Linked DNA regions of Homo sapiens: region 1 is linked to region 2. Evidence: promoter capture Hi-C in human tissues and cell types (Jung and others, 2019). All regions are on one chromosome and are shown on one strand. Each heading gives the region's core, a stretch centred on a gene start or on the middle of the fragment in contact. The rest is flanking DNA. Distances are from core to core; before and after follow the strand shown. Region 1 has its middle 38 kb from the start of MOS. Region 2 holds the start of MOS (MOS proto-oncogene, serine/threonine kinase).

Region 1 (7,334 bases), core at 1,061-3,560, 39 kb before region 2:
TGCTGATCCCAGCCATTGCTCCTTCCCAGGGTCTTCCCACGGATCACCTTTTCTCTTGTCTATGGCTCACATGTTCCTGTTCGTCGTTGTTGTTGTTGTTTTGTTTTGTTTTGTTCTGAGACGGAGTCTTGCTCCCTCACGCAGGCTGGAGTGCAGTGGCGCTATCTTGGCTCACTGCAACATCCGCCTCCCAGGTTTAAACGATTCTCCTGCCTCAGTCTCCCAAGTAGCTGCGATTACAGGTGAGTGCCACCACACCCAGCTAATTTTTGTATTTTTAGTAGAGACGGGGTTTCACCATGTTGGCCAGGCTGGTCTCGAACTCCTGACCTCAGGTGATCCACCTGCCTGGGCTTCCCAAAGTGCTTGCGATTACAGGCATGAGCCGCCTCGCCCAGACTCTGATATATAGATTCTTTTAGCCTAAATTTGGCCCCTTGGGGTCTGCCCATTGTATGGGTACAAGAGTCAGACAGAAATGTGGGCAAAGTTTATATACAGAATTTGCCTCCTGTTCTGGGTCTCTCTGCTTTCTGGGATTCTCACCTCCTCCTTCACTTTCCAGCTGCTGTTTTCCCTCCAAACTCTATTGTCTGATTTTTCAAGTCAGTAAGACTACAAAGTTCTATCTGAGATTTAGTTGCCCCGGGAGTGTGATACACTTGGAAAGTGAATTTTATTTGCCTTGGTTTATAATATCTGCATCTGAAAAACGTATGGAATCTGTTAATTCTCAGAAAAAGTTCCCAGTTTTTATGGGTTTATGGCCTTTACATACAATAGGAATGAAGGATTTTGTGTGTGTGTGTGTGTGTGTGTGTGTGTGTGTGTGTGTGTGTGTAATCTTTGTAGGTAGCAAAGATTCTGTGTGATGCCTAGGTCATATAAGTCTATGATTAACTTTATAACAAACTTTCATCCTGTCTTCCAAAATGGCTGTACCAGTTTTTTATTCCCATAAATAATGAATGAGAATTTCTGTTGCCCCACATTCTTAAGCTGTTTTGATATTGGTCTCAGGGGGTTTTAGCTAATTGTTGTTTTAATTTACATTTCCCAATAACAAATGATGTTGAGAACCTTTATATGTTTATTTTCCAACTGCATAAAACATTTTTAGTAAAATATCTGTTCAGATCCTTTGTCTATTTTTTATTGGATTAATTTTGTATTAGGTTGATTTTTTTATTGTTGAGTTTTAAGAATTCCTTATGCATTCTAGATATGAATGCTTTATCAGATAAACGATTTACAAACATTTTCTCCCAGTCTGTGGCTGGTCTTTTCATTGTTTCAACAGTATCAAAAAAAGCAAAAGTTTTCCATTTTTGTAAAGTCCAATTTATGTATTTTTTTCTTTTGTGGATTGGGCTTTTGAAATTGTATCTAAAAATTTATAACCAAACCTAAGGTCATGAAGATATTCTAGATTTTTTTCTATAGGTTGTGTATTGTTATGTTTTACATGTAGACCATGATTTAATTTTTGTATAAGATGTAAAGTATATTAGGTTTGAGGTTCGTGTGATTTGGGTTTTTTTTTTTTTTTTTTTTTTGCAAATGGATGGTCATTTGTTTTAGGACCGCTTGTTCATTTCTGGCTTTTCTATTCTGTTCTATTGATGTGTGTATTTATCACTTCACCAGTCTCACACTATCATAATTACTATAATAGTCTTGAAATCAGGACACATGCATCTTCCGAGTATATTTTCCTTTTTAAGAGTTGCCTTGGCTATTCCTTTGGTTCTGTGTACATTACATAGATTGTATATATTTTAGAATCTACATATTGATACCTATTAAAAAGTTTCTTTGGATTTTTATTTGGGTTGTGTTGCATATATAATTTGGGAAACATGAACACCTTTCAAATATTAAGTCTTTCAATCCATGAACTTAGTATCTTTCTTCAGTCATTTAGATCTTCTTTGTTTCATTGGTATTGTATAGTTTTCTACATACAAATCTCCCACATATATTATAAGACTTATATCTAAGTACTCCTTTAGTGTTATTGTAAATGGTATTTTTTTAAATTTCAGATTCCAGTTTCTATTGGTGATGTATAAGAATAAAATTGACTTTTGTATATTAACCTTATATCCTGTGACCTTGCTAAACTCACTTATTAGTTCCAGGTAGGGGTGTGTGTGTGTGTGTGTGTGTGTGTGTGTGTGTTTCTTGCTTTCTGCTGTATATGCCTTTTATTCCTTTTTCTTGCCTTATTGAACTAGCTAGAACTTCTAAGATGATGTTAAGTAAATGTGTTAATTAAAAACACCTTTGCCTTTTTCTGTATTTTTATAGGGAAAGTATTCAGTCTCTCACCATGAAGTATGATGTTAGTTGGAAGTTTTTCATAAACATCTTTTATTAAGTTAAGGAAATTCCTTTCAACTTCTAGTTTGTATGAGTTTTTTAAAATTATGAGTAGATGTTGAATTTTGTTGAATGTTTGTTCTTCATTCACTGATATGTTTTTTCTTATCTAGTCTACTCATATAGTGAGTTGCACTGATTGATTTTGAATGCTGAACCAGCCCTATATTCCTGAGATGAGCCCAACTTCGTTGCGCAGTATTATCCTTTTTTATGGACTACTGGATTTTATTTGCTAATATTTTGTTAGGGATTTTCATGTCTGTGTTCATGAGAGATGTTGATCTGAAGTTTTCTTGTGAATATATGAGGAAAAGTGTGTATATATGTGTGTGTGTATCTATCTCTATAGATATAGAGATATATATACATACAGATAGATATATCTCTACCAGTCCATAGTTATGCATCAGCAAATTTTAATACAACAACTCAGAGTTCAGTCTAACCTTCCCCCTTTTTAAATATTAACTCTCTTCTCCTGGTTCTTATTATCCACAATGTATTTACTTACTTACACAATTTTATAATATACATAAAAGTACTTCATAATTGCTAACCCATATCTACTCACAAGAGCAGCATAGTACTTGTTTACAGTTCTTTTGGTCTTTACCCCAAAGGCGTGTAGTCAAAATACTGTGTTCACAGTTACCCCCCATCACTTTCAGTTTAGTCATGTTATCCGTTTAAAATATAGCTGGGTTTGGGAGAGGTTCCAAGATGGCCGAATAGGAACAGCTCCAGTCTACAGCTCCCAGCATGAGCGACGCAGAGTACAGGTGATTTCCGCATTTCCAACTGAGGTACCAGGTTCATCTCACTGGGACTTGATGGACAGTGGGTGCAGCCCACGGACCATGAGCCAAAGCAGGGCAGGGCATCACCTCACTCGGGAAGTGCAAGGGGTTGGGGAATTCCCTTTCCTAGCCAAAGGAAGCCATGACAGATGGTACCTGGAAAATCGGGACACTCCCACCCTAATACTGTGCTTTTCCAATGGTCTTAGCAAATGGCACACCAGGAAATTATATCCCGCACCTAGCTCGGAGGGTCCTATGCCCATGGAGCCTCGCTCACTGCTAGCAAAGCAGTCTGAGATCGAACTGCAAGGCAGCAGCAAGGCTGCGCAAGGGGCATCTGCCATTGCTGAGGCTTGAGTAGGTAAACAAAGCGGCTCAGAAGCTCGAACTGGGTGGAGCCCACTGCAGCTCAAGGAGGCCTGCCTACCACTGTAGACTCCACTTCTAGGGGCAGGGCATAGCTGAACAAAAGGCAGCAGAAACTTCTGCAGACTTAAATATCCCTGTCTGACAGCTTTGAAGAGAGTAGTGGTTCTCCCAGCATGGAGTTTGAGATCTGAGAACGGACAGACTGCCTCCTCAAGTGGATCCCTGACCCCAGGGGAGCCTAACTGGCAGGCACCTCCCAGTAGGGACCAACTGACACCTCATACGGCTGGGTGTCCCTCTAAGACAAAGCTTCCAGAGGAAGGATCAGGCAGCAACATTTGCCATTCTGCAATATTTGCTGTTCGGCAGCCTCCGCTGGTGATAACCAGGCAAAAAGGGTCTGGAGTGGACCTCCAAAAAGGGTCTGGAGTGGACCTCCAGCAAACTCCAACAGACCTGCAGCTGAGGGTCCTGACTGTTAGAAGGAAAACTAACAAACAGAAAGGACATCCACATCAAAACCCCATCTGTACATCACCATCATCAAAGACCAAAAGTAGATAACACCACAAAGATGGGGAGAAACCAGAGCAGAAAAGCTGAAAATTCTAAACATCAGAGCGCCTCTTCTCCTCCAAAGGAATGCAGCTCCTCGCCAGCGATGGAACAAAGCTGGATGGAGAATGACTCTGAGGAGTTGAGAGAAGAAGGCTTCAAACGGTCAGTAATAACAAACTTCTCCAAGCTAAAGGAGGATGTTTGAACCCATCGCAAAGAAGCTAAAAACCTTGAAAAAAGATTAGACCAATGGCTAACTAGAATAAACAGCTTAGAGAAGACCTTAAATGACCTGATGGAGCTGAAAACCTTGGCAAGAGAACCACGTGATGCATGCACAAGCTTCAGTAGCCAATTCGATCACGTGGAAGAAAGGGTATCAGTGATTGAAGATCAAATGAATGAAATGAAGAGAGAAGAGAAGTTTAGAGAAAAAATAGTAAAAAGAAATGAACAAAGCCTCCAAGAAATATGGGACTATGTGAAAAGACCAAATCTACTTCTGATTGGTGTACCTGAAAGTGATGGGGAGAATGGAACCAAGTTGGAAAACACTCTGCAGGATGTTATCCAGGAGAACGTCCCCAACCTAGCAAGGCAGGCCAACATTCAAATTCAGGAAATACAGAGAATGCCACAAAAATACTCCTCGAGAAGAGCAACTCCAAGACACATAATTGTCAGATTCACCAAAGTTGAAATGAGGGAAAAAATGTTAAGGGCAGAGAGACAGAAAGGTCGGGTTACCCACAAAGGGAAGCCCATCAGACTAACAGCTGATCTCTCTGCAGAAACTCTACAAGCCAGAAGAGAGTGGGGGCCAATATTCAACATTCTTAAAGTAAAGAATTTGCAACCCAGAATTTCATATCCAGCCAAACTAAGCTTCATAAGTGAAGGAGAAATAAAGTCCTTTACAGACAATCAAATGCTGAGAGATTCTGCCACCACCAGGCCTGCCTTACAAGAGCTCCTGAAGGAAGCACTAAACATGGAAAGGAATAACAGGTACCAGCCACTGCAAAAACATGCCAAATTGTAAAGACCATTGATGCTAGGAAGAAACTGCACCAACTAAGGAGCAAAATAACCAGCTAACATCATAATGACAGGATCAAATTCACAAGTAACAATATTAACCTTAAATGGAAATTGGCTAAATGCTCCAATTAAAAGACACAGACTGGCTAATTGGGTAGAGTCAAGAACTGTCAGTGTGCTGTATTCAGGAGACCCATCTCACATGCAGAGAAACAGATAGGCTCAAAATAAAGGGATGTAGGAAGATCTACCAAGCAAATGGAAAACAAAAAAAAAAGCAGGGGTTGCAATCCTCATCTCTGATAAAACAGACTTTAAACCAACAAAGATCAAAAGAGACAAAGAAGGCCATTACATAATGGTAAAGGGATCAATTCAACAAGAAGAGCTAACTATCCTAAATATATATGCACCCAATACAGGAGCACCCAGATTCATAAAGCAAGTCCTTAGAGACCTACAAAGGGACTTAGACTCCCACACAATAATAATGGCAGACTTTAACACTCCACTGTCAACATTAGACAGATCAACTAGACAGAAAGTTAACAAGGATATCCAGGAATTGAACTCAGCTCTGCACCAAGCGGACCTAATAGTCATCTACAGAACTCTCCACCCCAAATCAACAGAATATACATTCTTCTAAGCACCACATCACACTTATTCCAAAATTGACCACATAGTTGGAAGTAAAGCACTCCTCAGCAAAAGTAAAAGAAGAGAAATTATAACAAACCATCTCCCAGACCACAGTGCAATCAAACTAGAACTCAGGATTAAGAAACTCACTCAAAAGAGCTCAACTACATGGAAACTGAACAACCTGCTCCTGAAGGACTACTGGGTACATACTGAAATGAAGGCAGAAATAAAGTTCTTTGAAACCTATGAGAACAAAGACACAACATACCAGAATCTCTGGGACACATTTAAAGCAGTGTGTAGAGGGAAATTTATAGCACTAAATGCCCACAAGAGAAAGCAGGAAAGATCTAAAATTGACTCCCTAACATCACAATTAAAAGAACTAGAGAAGCAAGAGCAAACACAAGCAGAAGTCAAAAAATAACTAAAATCAGAGCAGAACTGAAGGAGATAGGGACACAAAAAAAACCTTCAAAAAATCAATGAATCCAGGAGGTGGTTTTTTGAAAAGATCAACAAAATTGATAGACCTCTAGCAAGACTAATGAAGAAAAGAGAGAAGAATCAAATAGACGCAATAAAAAATGATGAAGGGGATATCACCACTGATCCCACAGAAATACAAAAACCATCAGAGAATACTATTAACACCTCTATGCAAATAAACTAGAAAATCTAGAAGAAATGGATAAATTCCTGGATACATACACCCTCCCAAGACTAAACAAGGAAGAAATTGAATCTCTGAATAGACCAATAACAGGCTCTGAAATTGAGGCAATAATTAATAGCCAACCAACCAAAAAAAGTTCAGGACCAGACGGATTCACAGCTGAATTCTACCAGAGGTACAAAGACGACTTGATACCATTTCTTCTGAAACTATTCCAATCAAAAGAAAAAGAGGGAATCCTCCCTAACTCATTTTATGAGGCCAGCATCATCCTGATACCAAAGCCTGGCAGAGACACAACCAAAAAAGAATTTTAGACCAATATCCCTGATGAACATCAATGCAAAACTCCTCAATAAAATACTCGCAAACCAAATCCAGCAGCACATCAAAAAGCTTATCCACCACTATCAAGTTGGCTTCATACCTCGGATGCAAGGCTGGTTCAACATACACAAATCAATAAACGTAATCCATCATATAAACAGAACCAGAGACAAAAACCACATGATTATCTCAATAGATGCAGAAAAGGCCTTTGACAAAATTCAACAGCCCTTCATGCTAAAACCTCTCAATAAACTAGGTATTGATGGGACATATCTCAAAATAATAAGAGCTATTTATGACAAACCAACAGCCAATATCATACTGAATGGGCAAAAACTGGAAGCATTCCCTTTGAAAACTGGCACAAGACAGGGATGCCCTCTCTCACCACTCCTATTCAACATAGTGTTGGAAGCTCTGGCCAGGGCAATCAGGCAAGAGAAAGAAATAAAGGGTATTCAAGTAGGAAAAGAGGAAGTCAAATTGTCCCTGTCTGCAGATGACATGATTGTATATTTAGAAAACCCCAT
Region 2 (7,525 bases), core at 597-3,096:
AAAAGTTAGCTGGGCATGGTGGCATGCGCCTGTAATCCCAGCTACTCGGGAGGCTGAGGCGGGAGAATCGCTTGAACCCAGGTGGCGGAGGTTGCAGTGAGCGGAGATCGTGCCATTGCACTCCAGCCTGGGCAACAAGAGCGAAACTCTGTCTCAAAAAAAAAAAAAAGATTGAGGCTCAAGCAGGTTAAATATTATACACACACTAGATCACATACTAAGCCACACAGGTTGTATAGAATAGAAATCCTATTCCAGGGCTTCACAGACCTCAAATTGTTTCTGTAAATGGTTCATGTTTATTAATTTACCTTCTCAAAGTCAATATACTTCAAAAACAGAACTGCTATCATTAAAATGTGGTTACACATAACCTAACACATAAGTGCTTTAGAAGAAGGGAACTTTACCATTTGATTTTTTAAAATATAGATCCTAACACTTTTGTGTGTGTGTGTTTTCTCATGAATATGGTAATATTATTGGTCCTTTTTCCAAAGATATGGTATGAAATTAATTTTTTGCTTAGAGTCAGGATCTTGCTCCATCATCCAGCCTGGTGTGCAGTGGCACGATCATAGCTCACTATAGCCTCAAACTCCTCAGTTCAAGTCTCCTCCCGCCCCAGCCTCCAAAGTAGCTAGGACTATAGGAGTGCACCACCACACTCAGCTAACTTTATTATTATTTTTTGTAGAGGCAGGTCTCAAATTCTTGGCCTCAAGTGGCCCTTCCACCTTAGCCTCCCAAAGCACTGGTATTATAGGCATAACTCACTGCACTTGGTAGAAAATTAATTTTCATTATAAAAATCAGAAAGAAAGATCTTATTGTCTGATGGCCAATACCCTGAATTTCATTCCAACTTCTGGTTTTCTACATTATATGTAGGTACCAGTGATTTTGTGCCATTTTTATTTCTTCAGATTTTTCCTCTTCTACAATTCTCCCATATGTGTTATTATTTGAAGCCCTGATCACAGCTCTGAATCATTTCTATTCTTTTGTCTCCCCCAACTCTGGTTCAAAACTTCGGTAACTCATTTGCTACGAAGTCTAGAATCTCTCTTGCAAGTGAGCTGACCGGTTGGGCCAAATCGCCTTGGAAGGGAAGGATTGTTAGGAAGTCAGTATGTTGCTAAGATGTCTTGCTAATTTGCTGTGTAAGCTGCATAGAGTGTCAGGGGATTCTCCTTTCCACTGATGAATTTAGGTGTGTGTTATGACCTGTATCAGTGATTCTATTTGGATTGATTAAGGTTGCAATTTTTTATCCATATGAATGTTGCACCTAGTTTTTCCCTGTAATTGGTTAAACAAATGTCTGCTGTTTGCATTTTAACTCTTAGCCAATACCTGCTGGAAGTGATTTAATGCAGCTGGAGAATGACACTAACAATCATTACAGCCTGCAAAGTGTGAAACAATTTCATTGTGCTTTGTGGTCTCTTTAGTCTGAGGACTGATAATGTGCAGCGGATGAGACTTGAAAAAAACGTATTTTATTATAATTTAAGAAATAATGTAAAAGAGGGGTGAGTTCTGAGGCAGCTCCATGCTGTTTGTCTGGCATGAGCTTGTTTTTATAAGAATTCACTTCAAGTGTGGAAGGGAAATGCTTTCATCTGAAAGGGATAGCTGTGCTTCATTCCGGTTTCTCCCTCCATCTGATAAAAACTCTTGCTGAGTGACAGCACAGATGTAGCTCATTTGGAACAAGTGAAGGAAAAGGAGAAAAGGGATGAGGTGGAGCGAAGGAGTAGTCAGTCATGTTTCCAAAGTCCCGCGGTTTCCCCTAGTCTCTTCATTCACTCCAGCGGCCCTGGTGTCCCCCTGCAAAGTGCGATGCCCTCGCCCCTGGCCCTACGCCCCTACCTCCGGAGCGAGTTTTCCCCATCGGTGGACGCGCGGCCCTGCAGCAGTCCCTCAGAGCTACCTGCGAAGCTGCTTCTGGGGGCCACTCTTCCTCGGGCCCCGCGGCTGCCGCGCCGGCTGGCCTGGTGCTCCATTGACTGGGAGCAGGTGTGCTTGCTGCAGAGGCTGGGAGCTGGAGGGTTTGGCTCGGTGTACAAGGCGACTTACCGCGGTGTTCCTGTGGCCATAAAGCAAGTGAACAAGTGCACCAAGAACCGACTAGCATCTCGGCGGAGTTTCTGGGCTGAGCTCAACGTAGCAAGGCTGCGCCACGATAACATCGTGCGCGTGGTGGCTGCCAGCACGCGCACGCCCGCAGGGTCCAATAGCCTAGGGACCATCATCATGGAGTTCGGTGGCAACGTCACTTTACACCAAGTCATCTATGGCGCCGCCGGCCACCCTGAGGGGGACGCAGGGGAGCCTCACTGCCGCACTGGAGGACAGTTAAGTTTGGGAAAGTGTCTCAAGTACTCACTAGATGTTGTGAACGGCCTGCTCTTCCTCCACTCGCAAAGCATTGTGCACTTGGACCTGAAGCCCGCGAACATCTTGATCAGTGAGCAGGATGTCTGTAAAATTAGTGACTTCGGTTGCTCTGAGAAGTTGGAAGATCTGCTGTGCTTCCAGACACCCTCTTACCCTCTAGGAGGCACATACACCCACCGCGCCCCGGAGCTCCTGAAAGGAGAGGGCGTGACGCCTAAAGCCGACATTTATTCCTTTGCCATCACTCTCTGGCAAATGACTACCAAGCAGGCGCCGTATTCGGGGGAGCGGCAGCACATACTGTACGCGGTGGTGGCCTACGACCTGCGCCCGTCCCTCTCCGCTGCCGTCTTCGAGGACTCGCTCCCCGGGCAGCGCCTTGGGGACGTCATCCAGCGCTGCTGGAGACCCAGCGCGGCGCAGAGGCCGAGCGCGCGGCTGCTTTTGGTGGATCTCACCTCTTTGAAAGCTGAACTCGGCTGACTGAAAACCTGGTCAAGATAAGTTTTTGTCTGATTCTATTTGTTTTTAAAGGAAGTGGAGATGTCGAAGAAAACATATTTGTAGGATGGAGTTTTAGAAAATAAAGTTACTAAAAACTCCTTTAGTCTCCAGTGCTTTTTCTAGGACACATTAGCAAAGCTACAAGTCTAGTACCTGTTGTCTCAGTACTGTTAGTAACTAATCTTATTCATATAGTCATGTGCTTTGCTTTCCATTGCTAGTATTTCATTTATTTAAATTTGTTATTGATAAAAGTTTGTCCAAAATAGAACTCCACTGCAGAAATGTCAAAATTTTCTATAAATCCATATATATCCCATACCTACCACATAAATTCCAACTATTAATGGTGTAGTTGCTCCCACACCAAATCAGTAAAAACTTTTAAAAAAATAAGTAATGCTTTCCTACTACTCCCCCCAGTAAAACTTCTTGTTTGTAATGACCTTCACTCATAAAAGTCATACACTGAGGTACATTTACATTCAAAGGAATTATATCATAAATGACTTATTGTAATATCTTTAACTTGTGCATTGCAATGAGTAGAAACATTTTGCTAAAACACTTCTAAACTGGGTCATTTTTACCTGGTATTGGGACTCAGAAGTAGAAGATAAAGATTATATGATGTGAGAGGAAAATGTAGGAGTAGAAGGTAAAGATTATATGATGTCAGGAATCATGAAATTTAACATTTGGATGGAAGAGAACAGACAAATAGAACTAGATTGCCCACTCTAGACATCAAAACAATGGATGTTGGTACATAGGATTTAAAGGAGAAGGTGATTGGATTTTGTCATTGGGACAGCTTTGACTTTCTTTTAGCAATAGCAGTTTCTGTGCATGGTGGAAAGCAAGGCTGATGCAATGGCTGGCAGAGGGAATGGCAAGGCCCTGAAGCAGAGGCTGTGCATGCACTGTTAAGGAGGGAGAGGCAGGAAGCTTAAAAGGGGGTCAGAGACACAGAAATGTTTTCAGATTTTTTATCTGGTATCATTTAGTTTTAGGTTGAAAGAAATAATTTTATTTGTAAAATGAGCCACCAGAGGCAAAGATAATTGATAAAGTTTAGATACTTGTAGAAGGGATGAAGCATAGTACCTAGGGGAAGAGATTGTCATCTTGGAGAGAAAGGGCATCTCTTCCCAGGATGGGAGCCAAGGGTGGGGGCACACTGGTATTATAGACACATTTACCCTAGGAAAAAGGGGACTGGGGAAGCACACATCTGTGAACTTCTATTTTTTTTCTGTTAAGAGTGGTTGAGGGTAGGGGAGTCTACAGAGTGAGAACATGGTTTGAAACTGTTCTTCAGAAAAGCAAAAGGGAGCTGTCTGTGGCCATGTAAAACACTGACAGAGTGCTGCTAACTCTGTCCAGGTAGTTGGGGGAACAAACCACCTATACCGATAAAGAATTCCCTTCTCTGATTATTATTATTATTTGAGATGGGGTCTCATTCCATCACCCAGGCTGGAGTGTAGTGGCACAATTTTGGCTCACTGCAACCTCCACCTCCCCAGTAGCTGGGATTACAGGCACGTGCCACCACACCTGGCTAATTTTTGTATTTTTAGTAAAGACGAGGTTTCACCATGTTGGCCAGGCTGGTCTTGAACTCCTGACCTCAAGTGATCCCCCCACATCAGCCTCACAAAGTCCTAGGATTACAGGCTTGAGCCACTGTGCCCAGCCCCCTTCTCTGACTATTGTGGCAATAGGAGTTCATGTTGGTAAGTTTAAATTACAATAGTATCTTCCCTTCACCTGGAGACCACATAGAATGACAAGATGAAGAAGGGGGAATAAACACTGTAGGCTCCATAATCAGTGAATCTGGGGTAGAGAAAACAAACTCTAAAATGTGATAACTAAAGATTGAATGGAGCCTTAAGGAAAGAGAGCAGAAAGGATAAGGGGTGGCTGGCGTCAGGGCAAGGGGGTGGGGACCAAGGGACCCAGCAGTGACAGATCCCAGAGAGACCTGCAAAATTAGGGGCCCTGGAGAACAGGAGCCCACTAGGAAGTGCAAATGTTGGGGAAGAAATCAGAGAACAGGAATGAGATCAAACAGTGCTGAGGTTAGAGGAGTTGGTAGAAAAAGAAGGAAGAGCAGGTGTTACGGAGGATCCAGCCATGCAGAGCTCAGAAATTGGCAGCAAAATTCAGCTGCTGGACAGGAGGGGGTCACCCTGGGGACAGGGCAGGGAATACTGGACAGGCACAGAAGCCTTCTGGGCCCGGTTTGCTTTGGAGAGAAAGAAGGTTGTGGCTGCATGAAGAAATCCACAGAAATGCCATATTGGAAGGAAACAAACAGATGAAAGAAGTCTGAGTTGTTGGAAAACCACCCTGGTGAGAGGTAGAACAGGTGCATGACTGCTCCCTCTGTAGCAGCTAAGAGTCAAAGTATGCTCTTTGACATACACATCAAGTCAGAGGTAAAGGCATACTTAACAGTGCAAAGATAAGTATTAAGCAAGATAATACGGGCGGGCGCGGTGGTTCACGCCTGTAATCTCAGCACCTTGGGAGGCCAAGGTGGGTGGATCACCTGAGGTCCGGAGTTCGAGACCTGCCTGGCCAACATGGTGAAACCCCATTTCTACTAAAAATAGAAAATTAGTCAGGCGTGGTGGCACATGCCTGTAATCCCAGCTATTTGGGAGGCTGAGGCAGGAGAATCATTTGAACCCGGGATGCAGAGGTTGCGGTGAGCTGAGATGGCGCCATTGCACTCCAGCCTGGGCAACAAGAGCGAAACTCCGTCTCAAAAAAAAAAGAATAACATTTACATCAAAACTCCATAAAGACTGCTTTTAAAAAAGAAACGACAGGTCAATCTTGTTTAAAACTATCAGTGTAAAAAATTATCAGTGTCCTAAGTAAATATTAGCACACAGAATCTAAGAGTTAATTTTTATAATCATGCACGTTATTTTTAATCAAGTGGATTTCTTCTAAGATGCAAAAATAGTTTCATATTAGAAAATCTATTGACTTACTTCATCATATTAGCAGGTTAAAAGAGTAAGAACATATGCTGAGAATACATTTGACAAAATTAAATGTTCATTCCGGGTTTTTAAAAAGAGACTCAAAAGAAGGAGGAATAGATATTTACCTAACCCACTTTTTTAAAAAAAAATACATAACTAATGTTAATTTCTTATATTTCTTATTTTTTTAAATGTATTAATACCATGATTATATAACATAGGGAAAACTGAATAAAGGATATGTTATACAAGAATTTTATGTACTGTCTGCAATTCTTCTATGTCTAAAGTTATTTCAAAATAAAAACTTAAAAATGTATAGAACACCACACATTTCAGCCCAATAGCTACCATATTAACAGGAAATCATTCCACTAAAGTCATGAATAATGTAAGAATGCCCACTACTGCTATTATGATTTAACGTTTTATTGGTCAGTGATATTTAAAAAGAAAATTAAACTTGAGGTCTAAAACTGTAAAGAGAGAAGAAAAACAAATTCTGTTTGCAGATTCTATTTTCAGGATGTATACTTGGAAAAGAAACACAAGACAATAGAAAAACTAAAACAAAATAATTATGTAAGTTTGCAGGATATAAAATTAACATACAGAAATAAGCAGACTTCAACTATGTAAACAAAAATCAGCTAGAATTTATAAAAGAAAGATTCTTTTTACAATACCATTGAAAAAGATAAAATATTCCCTTTGACACAGCCACAGACTGCATGTTTGGTGATAGCAGGGCTGGAGGATGAGATACTTGGCTAATATGGTGGGGACATTAGTCATATACAGAAGGATTAAACAAGTAAGAAAATACATCAAGGAGAATGGGAGCCAGGATTTGTAACTGTTAGAAAAGGAAGTTACAAGTATAGAAATGAGGAAGTCTAGAATAAACCCTACTGAAATTGAAATAGGAAATGTCAGATTGAGTTTAGAAGTATCAGTATGAACATGTAGTTTTTAATAGAGGTAGATGAAAGGAGAGATAGGGATAGATATACTAACAGACATTAATGTGTGTGGGTCTGTGTGTGTGTGTACGCACATACATGTATTTCCTAGCTCTGTCCTTTGACAGGACCTAAAGTAATGACACTCTGGAGCAGATTAACACCAAACTTTAGTTCTGAATTCTGACTTTTTAGTTTCTGAATTTTTATTCACAACAGGAGGAAACCAGGGCCTCTTGGAGAAATGGCGATTCCAGAGCAGGGAAAATACAAAATGAACCAGAACATCTTGTGCCTCCAAATAAAGAAATGCTCAGGAATGATAGACACCTGTTATAAGGACACAGGAGCTGGCTTGAATGATCTCCTACTGGCTGACCTGAGATAATTTTAGCATTAAAATGATTAATGATGGTAAATCAATTAGAAATGAATAGTCATAATGAAGGAAATAGGAATCCATAATGATATAAATAATTATATAAATAAATGTTGGAGAAAGGAAAGCTCTACCTTACAATAGAATACCAACAAATATTAATTGCAAATAAGCACAAAATAATTATCCTTACAGTGAAGAAGTCATACTGACATTATCTTACAAGTGATGTAGACAGATATACAGAAAGGTATCTTACTCAAGATAATATC

What was found. Contacts are between HindIII fragments. The study calls those that stand out against the background at their distance.
Region 1: a contact is called between a fragment that was not itself captured here and the fragment with the promoter of MOS in region 2, in 3 of the 25 tissues and cell types used here (H1 embryonic stem cells, aorta and stomach).

The regions. Positions count from the first base shown.
Region 1 is chr8:56,148,053-56,155,386 of GRCh38, reverse strand. No RefSeq gene overlaps it. Among named protein-coding and RNA genes, the nearest start is that of MOS, 38 kb to the right of the region's middle. The HindIII fragment of the contact is 7,248 bases long and covers 1-5,934 here.
Region 2 is chr8:56,108,303-56,115,827 of GRCh38, reverse strand. MOS (MOS proto-oncogene, serine/threonine kinase) reads left to right here and starts at 1,846. Exons shown (of 1, transcript NM_005372.1): 1 at 1,846-2,886. The coding sequence starts at 1,846. The coding sequence ends at 2,886. RefSeq lists an enhancer at 1,967-2,467. The HindIII fragment of the contact is 8,406 bases long and covers 1-6,213 here.